Linked DNA regions of Homo sapiens: region 1 is linked to region 2. The links are contacts of gene promoters, found by promoter capture Hi-C in human tissues and cell types (Jung and others, 2019). All regions are on one chromosome and are shown on one strand. The core of a region is centred on a gene start or on the middle of the fragment in contact, and the rest is flanking DNA. Distances in the headings are between cores, read along the strand shown.

Region 1 (4,822 bases), core at 1,980-4,479, 270 kb after region 2:
CTCAGTGCCTGGCATGCAATAAGATCTCAGTAAACACTATTTATTAGTAATGAAAAGTTTACCCTTGGAATAAACATCTTCAGATCTAGGCCATCTATTTGGGGAATGGGGGATTTCTTCTCTCCTCTTAAAAAGTTCCTTTTTCTCAAGTTCTTGTTTTATTTTTATCTATTATTATTATGATTTTTAGAGGCAGGGTCTCACTCTGTTGCCTAGGCTGGAATGTGATGGCGTGATCAAAGCTCACCACACCTTCAAACTCCTGGGCACAAGCAACCCTCCTGTCTCAGCCTCTCCAGTAGCTGGGACTATGGATGCATGCCACCATGCCCAGCTAATTAAAAAAATTTTTTTTTTTTTTTTAGAAATGGGGTCTTGCTGTGTTGGCCAGGCTGGTCTTGAACTCCTGGCCTCAAGCAACCCATCAGCCTCGGCCTCCCAAAGTGCTAGGATTACAGGTGCAAGCCACTGCACCTGGCTGCTTTTTCTGAAATTCTTTTAGGATAATTACATGTATACATGCACATAGTTATATGCACATGAATGTACATACACACACACAGACATTTTCTTTCTCTGTTTTACAGAGGGAGCTCAATGCAGAAAATAAAGCCAAGGCTTCAACTTTGGTCGAGTAAAGTAGCTTTCAAAAAATTTTAACCTCCACAACTGCCACTTATACGTACCTCTATATAAAACAACACACAAATTTTCAATAAACAATATTTATCTTCACTGCTGGCACTATTGTGTTCAGGTCTGTTCCATTCTCTTTCATTTAAAAAAAATGCTGGCCAGGTGTGGTGGCTCACGCCTGTAATCCCAGCACTTTGGGAGGCTGAGGCGGGTGGATCACAAGGTCAGGAGTTCAAGACCAGCCTGAGCAACGTGGTGAAACTCCCTCTCTACTAAAAATACAAAAAATACAAAAGTGCAGTGGTGTGATCTCAGCTCACTGATCACTCATCTTCGCCTCCCCAGTTCAAGCAATTCTCCTGCCTTAGCCTCCTGAGTAGCTGGGATTACAGGCATGTGCCACCACGCCCGGCTAATTTTATATTTTTAGTAGAGACGGGGTTTCTCCATGTTGGTCAGGCTGGTCTCGAACTCCTGACCTCAGGTGATCCACCTTCCTCAGCCTTGCAAAGTGCTGGGATTAGAGGCATGAGCTTTATAAATTTTAACTCATTTAGTACACATAACCACTCTAACCACTCTAGATAGTAGACTATACTATAATTACTCCAGGGGAAGAATTGCCTGTTCTTTGTTTCCAATATCTAGCCAGAATCCAGAAGACTTGCATATTATAGAAGCTGGGCTAAATACTTAAGTAGAAATGAGAATAATATTATGGAACAAGCAATTGCTTTCATAAGTCCTGATGGGCAAACAATAGCCAAAGATGGTGACCACAAACCTCGAATCAGCAAACCTGAGACTTGGCATATTGCTGTAGTTAGGCTGAAATTATTTGTGATGTACTGCAAACTTTTGTTGTAAAACATAACATAAAAATTTAGTCACATGTAAACATTCACCCAGAGAAAATTTCTGTAACATTTGTTGTTTTATCCTGATCTTAATGCAGGATAAAACAACAAGGGGCCAGGGCACCCCACCTGCCTATCACCCTTTGTCACCACCATCACCACCACCCACAGAAAGAACAGCCTGGTGTCTGAAATGATGGGTAAAGAATTGCTTGTAAACTAAAAAGAGAAAACTCAAATGTCTACCTGTTTAGTTAATAGAGTTTTAAATATTTGACAACCTTCATTCTTCTCTCATTATAAAAGTAAAATGATGTTCACTGTTAAAATTCTGAAACATGCAGTGAAATGTAAAAATGAAAATATAAATGACCCCAAGTATCACCACCTACACACAGCAGCTATTCACACTTGGTGTAGTGTGAGTGTGTTTAGGCCTTCAGACATGTTTCATTTGGCTTACCCAGTGTTTTAAAATGTTTTTCATTATAAAAACCTGGATTTCCAGTATCTCTTGAAAAAATACCAAGATCTGACAACACTTGGTCCACATTCTTGCACAACAGCTGCTGAGAGCTGAGTAGCTGCTGCCCCTCTTGGGCAGGGCAGGGCTTAAGTATTTCCTCCACCAGAGTCCCCACCGTTCCCATTTTTCTTACACTTGGTCAGGTTCATTTACTTGTTATTCTCATATTCTGGTGGGCATTTGAGTTTTCTCTCTTTCAGTTTACAAGCAATTCTTTACCCAGCATGTCAGGGATCAGGCTGTTCTTTTTGTGGGTGGTGGTGATGGTGATAGTGGTGACAAAGGGTGATGGGTAGGTGGGGTCCTCTGGTCCCTTGTTACAGAGGGTGGGGGAGCAGAAGTCTTTTATTTCTGGATTCTGCTCTTTCTTTTCTAGTATACTTAACATTTTAAAAAAGCTCCATATGTAGAGGATTAATTTCTTTTCCTTCCTTTCTTTCTCTTTCTTTCTTTCTTTCTTTCTTTCTTTCTTTCTTTCTTTCTTTCTTTTTTCTCTTTCTTTCTTTCTTTCTTTCTTTCTTTCTTTTTCTTTCTTTCTTTCTTCCTTTCTCTCTTTCTTTCTTTCTTTTTTTCTTCTCTCTCTCTCTTCCTTTCTTTTTTTTTTTTTTTTTTCGAGACAGGCTGGAATGCAGTGGTGTGAATCTCGGCTCACTGCAGCCTCCTCCCGGGGTCAAGAGATCCTCCCACCTCAGCCCGAAAGTGGCTGGGACTACAGGCATGCGCCACCACAGCCGCCCGGCAAATTTTTGCATTTTTTTGTAGAGATGTGGTTTCGCCATGTTGCCCAGGCTGGTCTCAAACTTCTGGGCTGGAGCAATCTGCCTGCCTTGGCCTCCCAAGGGATGAGCCACTGCACCCAGCCCATCCACTAAATCTTTAAATGAAAAACTGCCACTGGCCTCTGCAGTCCATACCTGGAATTTTTTCTAGGCCACTGGCTTTTAATTTTTTTTAAAACTATCACTCACAATGAGAAGTCAGTTCTACAAAATGACTCAACATATACATGTTTACAACAGAAAAAAATGTTTCACAGAACAATCACTTGCCCTTTATGTGATATACACTGGTAAGTTCATTCTCTTCTAATATAATTAAAAAAATAAACGGGTCATGACCCATTAAATTGATGTAATAACTCTCCTACAGGTCATTACTCTTGGTTCGAAATACAGCTTTCTGGGACAATTTCTGGTTTACAACTTAGGACTTCAGCTTTTCTCTTTCCCCGACCCATTCAAGTCTCGCATGCCATTCTTCAATAATCCCTTTAAGCCAATGACTTGTTTGGATCTGCTCACCTGGATTTGACTGTCCCCACCCTCTACACCATGACTTCTAGACTTCAGCTCAGTCATGGGCACCACCCAGTCCCTGTTGTGCCCCATCCAGCTTGTGCGGGGCCTGTCTTGGGTTGGCATCATCTCTCTCTATGCGTTGTTCCTACTTGACAGGGATGGGAACTATGGTAGAGGATGAAACTTCTTGTCATGCTGAGAAGAGCATTACCTACCATCATTAAGAAAGGCTGTACCTAGAGTACTCGTACCCCAGATACTCACATGTCGGCTCCCTCATTTCCTTCAGCTTCAGTTCTACTGTCCCCTCCCCAGAAAGGCCTTTCTTGACTATGGCACCTCACCTAGAACCGTGGTCTCATCTGTTCCCTCACCTTGCTTTAGCTTTTCTTTTTAGCTCTTATAGAGGGTCTGGCTGTAGGAGTCATAGAATGTAAAAGCAGGGAGAGATTTAGAGACCAGCTATGATTCAAGCCTCTAATTTTATAGAGAGGAAATGCAAGTCCAGAGAGATAAGTAAAGAGTCCATGGCATCCTAGATTATTCATGGCAAATCTGAACTAGAAACCAGATCCCTGGGTACTTGTCAGTTCCTCACTGGTTATGATGAGGTTTTTTTTTTTGTTTTTTTTGTTTTTTTAAACTCTGTCTTATAATAAGCTCTAGGATACATGATATTAGACTGTATTATACTTAGTAGTAAATAGTGGTATGAAAATGTTCTGCTTGCAGGTTTCATTTTACTCTGAAACACACACACACACACACACACACACACTGAAGCATAATGAGGTAGGTGACATAGATACCACCTCAATTAAATAAAGTGCAATATCAAAGGGAAAATGTTAGGTACCAAGATTCAGGAGACTAACTGCGTTGGTACCCAGAAATTTCATACAGGCAAAGACTTGAATTTAAGGCTCCAGCGAGGCACAGGGTTTGATGATGAATGGATGACGAGGAGATAGAAGCTTGTGTCACAGGATTTGATAAAGGAGAGAGAGGGGGTACACAGCAGCATAACTAGGGTACAACTGTTTGTTTTTGGAATAACCTTCCAAACTAGGGGGGAAGGTAGTTCAATCCACAGTTGGTAACTTTTGCATATGCAGGAACTGGGTGTTTTGGGGAGTTCTAGAAGCTCTTCCATATAGTACTTTTCAGTCCTAAACACTTTGTAGATTCCCACAATACAAAAGTGTTGGGGATTAGTGGAAATTTATATTTTTTAATGTTGGCAGTCCTGTATCTAGTCACTATCTTTTGGCAATGACATTAATATTCTTCTTTTGAGGAATTGCTTCTCTCTCATTGGTTGAATTCTGGTGGGACTGTTTTGCCCTGACTACCCTTAGCCAGGTGGAAACTGTAAAACCCAAGCTAATCTAAAAGGGAACTGAATCTCAATCAGTGTGACAGAGACGGAAAATAGCTAAAGCTCACATATTCTAGTAACACTAGACAAAGCAACACTCTGTCTAGACTATGGGAATATTCTCGCT
Region 2 (5,095 bases), core at 1,503-4,002:
AGTGCTTATTGATATCGTAACCAAATACTATACTAATTATGTTACAATAAATGTTAGTTGCTATTATAATTACCGTTATTATTAAATGCTTTAAAAGCAAAAAATCTTACAAGGCTGTCGAAATGAGCTAGGAGTTCGAGGGATAACCTGGTTTCTTGGTGTAGTATTACCAAAATTTTCATCTTGAGATGCCTGAACTGTACAACGAGTTAAGAAAAGTTTTCCATGTAGAAAAGAGATCACTAAAATGAGAATTAACCATCTTTTTACTATACAAATTATGTGAATACATTTTTCAAGAACAAGTATTTTAGGGCTACCATTTTTCAATGCAAAGGGTAAATAATTCATTGCTTCTGCCATTTAAATGATCAGATGTCAGTCTTAGATAACTACACACTGAACTAAATGTTTTTAGTCAGTTTTCAAATAATAAAAAGAAATCTAATCTCAGCAGAAGCTGTCAGCAGTAAGAAATATCTTTATTTTTAGGGAAATACGATCTCATTAAATTTTTGCATTATATTTACCAAATGACAGCTCTGTGGAGTGAAAAAAAGTTTCTACAGGATTTTATTATAGCTACCATTTAATACTCTTATAAAAAGAAAATTCTACAACACTGATTCCAAACATGTTACAATTTTTATAATGATGCTTAAATCGCAAAGGATACGTAAAACTCTTTTCTGAGCACTCTGTTTCCGTGCAGTCCGTGTCACCTCTGCCTCCCGGATTACAGGGGATGATATCTCTCCAAAGCCACTCCTAAAGTAGTATAATCAAGCTTATATAAGTGAAACGAGAATATAGCATTTATAAAGAATTTTATCATCACAGTTGGAGTAAAGGACCCTGAGTAAGTTAAGGTATAGTCATTCTAGTAGCCAAGTCTTAGATCTTTTGTTGAGAACGCACTCCTGGCTCCAAATCCTGCTTATTCTTCAAAGCCTTACTCAAATCTTACCTGCACAAAGACTTCTCTGACTTTCTAGTACTCACTATGTTATTTTCTCCTAAGGAATTATTTCAACACTTGGAATCTATATTATAACACTGTTTTAGATAATTGCTTCATGAAAGTGAATCTTATTTCCCTTGTTGGATTGAGGAGTTACCTAACTGCAGGAATTCTCTCTTAAAAGATTTTCTGCAGTCTCCAAAATGCTTTAAACCATGGGTACTATTAAAAAACAAACAAACAACAACAACAACAAACAGAGCTTGCAACAACAACAACAAACAGAGCTTGTGAGATAGAAGGGTAAGTAAAAGAATTGTGGTAAATTGGAGCAAAATGACCCTTCAAGTTATTTCAACCCAGGAGGTCTCCTGTCCCATCACAACACTCCCTGTCAGTTTCACTCAAAGGTCTAGAAACTAAATTGTGCGGACTAAAAGGCCTGTGTTTAAGACAAGAATCTAATATGCTTTTCCTCCACTTAAAACCTTCAGATATTCCTTCAGCAGGAAAGTATGGGAAACAACCACATAGAAACAATTTTAAACGTTTAACAATTAAAATTAAAAACAAAAAAAAAAACCTTCAGATAGCTCTCTGGTCTATAGAAGTAAAAATTTCCTAAAATGATATTTACAATGTGACCCCAGTTTAGGGGTTCAGTCTTCTATTCAGCCACAAACATCACTTTAAACGTATACTGCATGTGACCACTGAGCTACACGTACTTTTTTTTCATATCCTAGCACCTCTGAATATGCTTCTTTTACAAAGACCTACATTTGCCCCCTTGAGCACCTGGTCAACAACTACTTACTCCTCAAAGAGCCTCAGGTAGGCTGGAGACACACAGATGCAGGTTGGCAATTTGGTTCTTGTATTTATTAGCTTCCGAACTTTCAGCAAGTTCCTTAACCTCTTTTAGTCTCAGTGTTATATATGAAAAAAGGATAACAGTACCCATCTCATAGGATTTTTCTTGTTCTGAAGATTAAATAAGCTAATAATATATATTCAACGCCTTTAGAACAATGGCAGTCACATAGTAGGTACTCAATGTTTGGAGTACGAATAATGTACTCTTATTATTCAAAGACCAGCTAGAAAGTTACCTTCTTTGAGGGGTCTTCCTGATAGTTACAGTGACAAGGAGACTTAATCGCCCCCAAACACTTACCACTTTACACTGCTTGGTTGTCTCCATTACACAACTAATTCCCCGAGGGGAAGGATCTTGAATAACTGATCTTTGTTGTAGGCGGCTAGCACAGTACCCAGATCATAGAGGGAACTCAGAATCTGATGCTGGCACTTGTAATCAGAAAGTCTGGGCTGAGATCCCAGTATCTTCACTGACTGGCTTTGTGATCTCAGGCTGGTCACTTAGCATTTCGAACGCCGCGCTACCTACCCCGCCCACCCCAGGAGCGAACAGTGTTGCTGCCCCAAAGCGCCGAATAGATCGCAGAACGTAGTGGGAAAGTAAGGGACTATTATGATCTGTACCCCACCCCGACGCACGCCAAGCGGCTTTTTCCCCATTTGTGGCCAAATTTCCCGGCATGGGGAAGGAGCCTTAGGGGAAGCACCCGGGACCTCCTTGGCTTCTTCTGGGAGTCTAGTTTCACCTATTTCGTTTCGCCAACAGGCGAGACGGGCAAGACTTCGGGCTCAGCTGCCACCATCAGTACTGACCTGTCCATGGCTAAAGCCTTTTCCACACACAACCAAAGTTGGCTGCAGTTTAGCTACCGCGTTTTAGCCTTCCCGCTCTCCGGAAGCAAGCCCTTCGACCCGGAAGCAGTCTGTCCCTAAAACAGACCCACAGAAAAGGGGTAGGGGAGAAGAAACAACGTTCCCATCTAGCGCATGCGCGACTTCAGCCTACAGGTGCACGCCCGGTGGGCGCAGGCGCAAAAGTTTGCCAATGTGTTCCTGGTTGCGTTTAGCCCAGACGCCCTGCGGCCGCTTTGCCTGACCAAAGTCTGTGGGCGTGGAACAGGCCCTGGGTTCTCCTACTGGGAAGAATGAAGTATGTTGATAGTCTGGAAAAATGTGAAGTCATTTCCTGGTATTCTCTGTCAGAAAGCGCCTGTTCTTGGAATTCAGATGCGTGGGCTCTGCCCCACACCTCGGGGATCTCTATCTCTCTGCCTACACTCAGTCCTTTGTTCTGTAGCCCCCTGCAGTTTTTGCAACTATTTTCCATAACTGCTATTTGTTCTTTACTTGGTGTTCTTTCCTATTAAGGAGAAAAAGTTCACCTGTATTAAAAAGTAGAAAGGCAAGCGTGAAATATGATGGTATTGCCCTCTATTTCAAAGTGCCGTCTAGGCAAAAAGTGGTGTATTTTGGTCTTGAAGGAGTCAGTCACATTTTTGTTTTGGTTTTTGTTTTTTCCAGTTTGAAAGTAGTGACTGGCTATTAACTGACCAGATTACAAAAATAATGTTAGATGCTTCAGTTTATCCGTTTAATAAGCCTGTTGATATAGTCTTTTCTGTTGCTGGCATTTATACCTTTTATTAATACAAAATAGGTAGTCCTTCATTCTCCCTCGTGGAGAAGATAATTTGAAGGATCACAGGAACTTGAGTTTTTCAACAGCATAGATCTCATGAATCAGATTCTCCAGTCAGATGATGCCATATTTATCAGGAAATCTAGCAATCAAAGCGTTATCTGTTAAGGTAATTTGTTTATTGATTTTGCCATAACCAATTTGTAGATCAGTTCATTTACTGATTTCAGGTTCAGGTACTCCATGTGATATATGGTTCCACAATCCTCAGCGTGTTAACTGAAGCCTTGTTGAGTTTAACAAAGCTGCCATTGAAGATCTGGGGAAAGTGAAGAAGTTGCAACAGAGTTTTGGGCTCACACCATTGATACATTTGATCCTTAAGGCAAGTGACAATTTGGGTTTCACAGGTATATAGAAATTGCCAGCTTTTCTTGCCATATATTTCTTGTGACAGTGCTGAGCTTTTTTTTTTTACTTCTTGCTTGCTTTTTTTTGGACTTGATTTTTTAAATTATGTTTCCTTCCTTCCTTCTTTCTTTGTTTTTTTTTTTTTTGAGACAGGATCTTGTCCTATTGTCCCGGCTTACGTGCAGTGGCACAGTCACGGCTCACTGCAGCCTTGACCTCCTGGGCTCCAGCAATCCTCCTACCTCAGCCTCCCTAGTACCTGAGGTTGCTGGGACCACAGGCACGCACCACCATGCCTGACCTCCTCTCCTCCCCCGTTTTTTAAAAATATTTTGGAGAAATGGGGTCTTATGTTGTTGCCCAGGCTGGTCTCAAACTCTTGGGCTCAAGCCATCCTCTTACCTGGGTCTCCCAAAGTGCTGGGATTACAGGGGTTAGCCACCACATCTGACAGTGCCTAGCTTTTTCATAGATGTAGCTTTCTCCTTGCTTTTCTTTTTCTTTTTTTTCGAGATGGAGTCTCATTCCATTGCCCAGGCTGGAGTGCAGTGGTGCCATCTCGGCTCACTGCAACCTCTGCCTCCTGGGTTCAAGCGATTCTCCTGCCTCAGCCTCCTGAGTAGCTGGGATTACAGGTGTCTGCCACCACACCCGGCTAATTTTTGCGTTTTTGGTAGAGATGGGGTTTCACCATGTTGTCCAGGCTGGTCTTGAACTCCTGACCTCAGGTGATTCACCTGCCTCAGCCTCCCAAAGTGCTGGGATTACAGGCGTGAGCCACTGCGCCTGGCCTTCTCCTTTCTTTTCAAAGCATTTTATGGGCAAACTTCTTTCTCAGGCACTTGACCTTTAGCTCTGTGAAATTCCTTCATGTGTTTTATTTTTATTTTTTGAGACAGAGTCTTGCCCTTTTGCCCAGGCTGGAGTGCAGTGATGCAATCTTGGCTCACTGAAACCTCTGCCTCCCCGGTTCAAGCGATTCTTGTACATCAGCCTCCCAAGTAGCTGGGATTACAGGCGTGCACCACCATGCCCAGCTAATTTTTGTATTTTTAGTAGAGGCGGGGTTTCACCATGCTGGCCAGGCTGGTCTCGAACTCCTGACCTCATGATCCACCCGCCTCGGCCTCCCAAAGTGCTGGGATTACAGGCATGAACCACAGTGCCCAGCCTTCCCTCACATTTTTAAAGGGTTTCTGGCA

The links. Contacts are between HindIII fragments. The study calls those that stand out against the background at their distance.
Region 1: a contact is called between a fragment that was not itself captured here and the fragment with the promoter of NUP107 in region 2, in 1 of the 25 tissues and cell types used here (IMR-90 fibroblasts).

What each region holds. Positions count from the first base shown.
Region 1 is chr12:68,415,098-68,419,919 of GRCh38, reverse strand. No RefSeq gene overlaps it. Among named protein-coding and RNA genes, the nearest start is that of LINC02384, 34 kb to the left of the region's middle. The HindIII fragment of the contact is 7,779 bases long and covers 1-4,822 here.
Region 2 is chr12:68,684,635-68,689,729 of GRCh38, reverse strand. It overlaps NUP107 (nucleoporin 107), which reads right to left and starts at 2,752. Exons shown (of 28, transcript NM_020401.4): 1 at 2,657-2,752; 2 at 677-768; 3 at 111-197. The coding sequence starts at 2,664. LOC100507250 (a long non-coding RNA gene) reads left to right here and starts at 2,871. Exons shown (of 3, transcript NR_038930.1): 1 at 2,871-2,993; 2 at 3,713-3,867. It also overlaps the pseudogene RPL7P42. The HindIII fragment of the contact is 7,944 bases long and covers 1-5,095 here.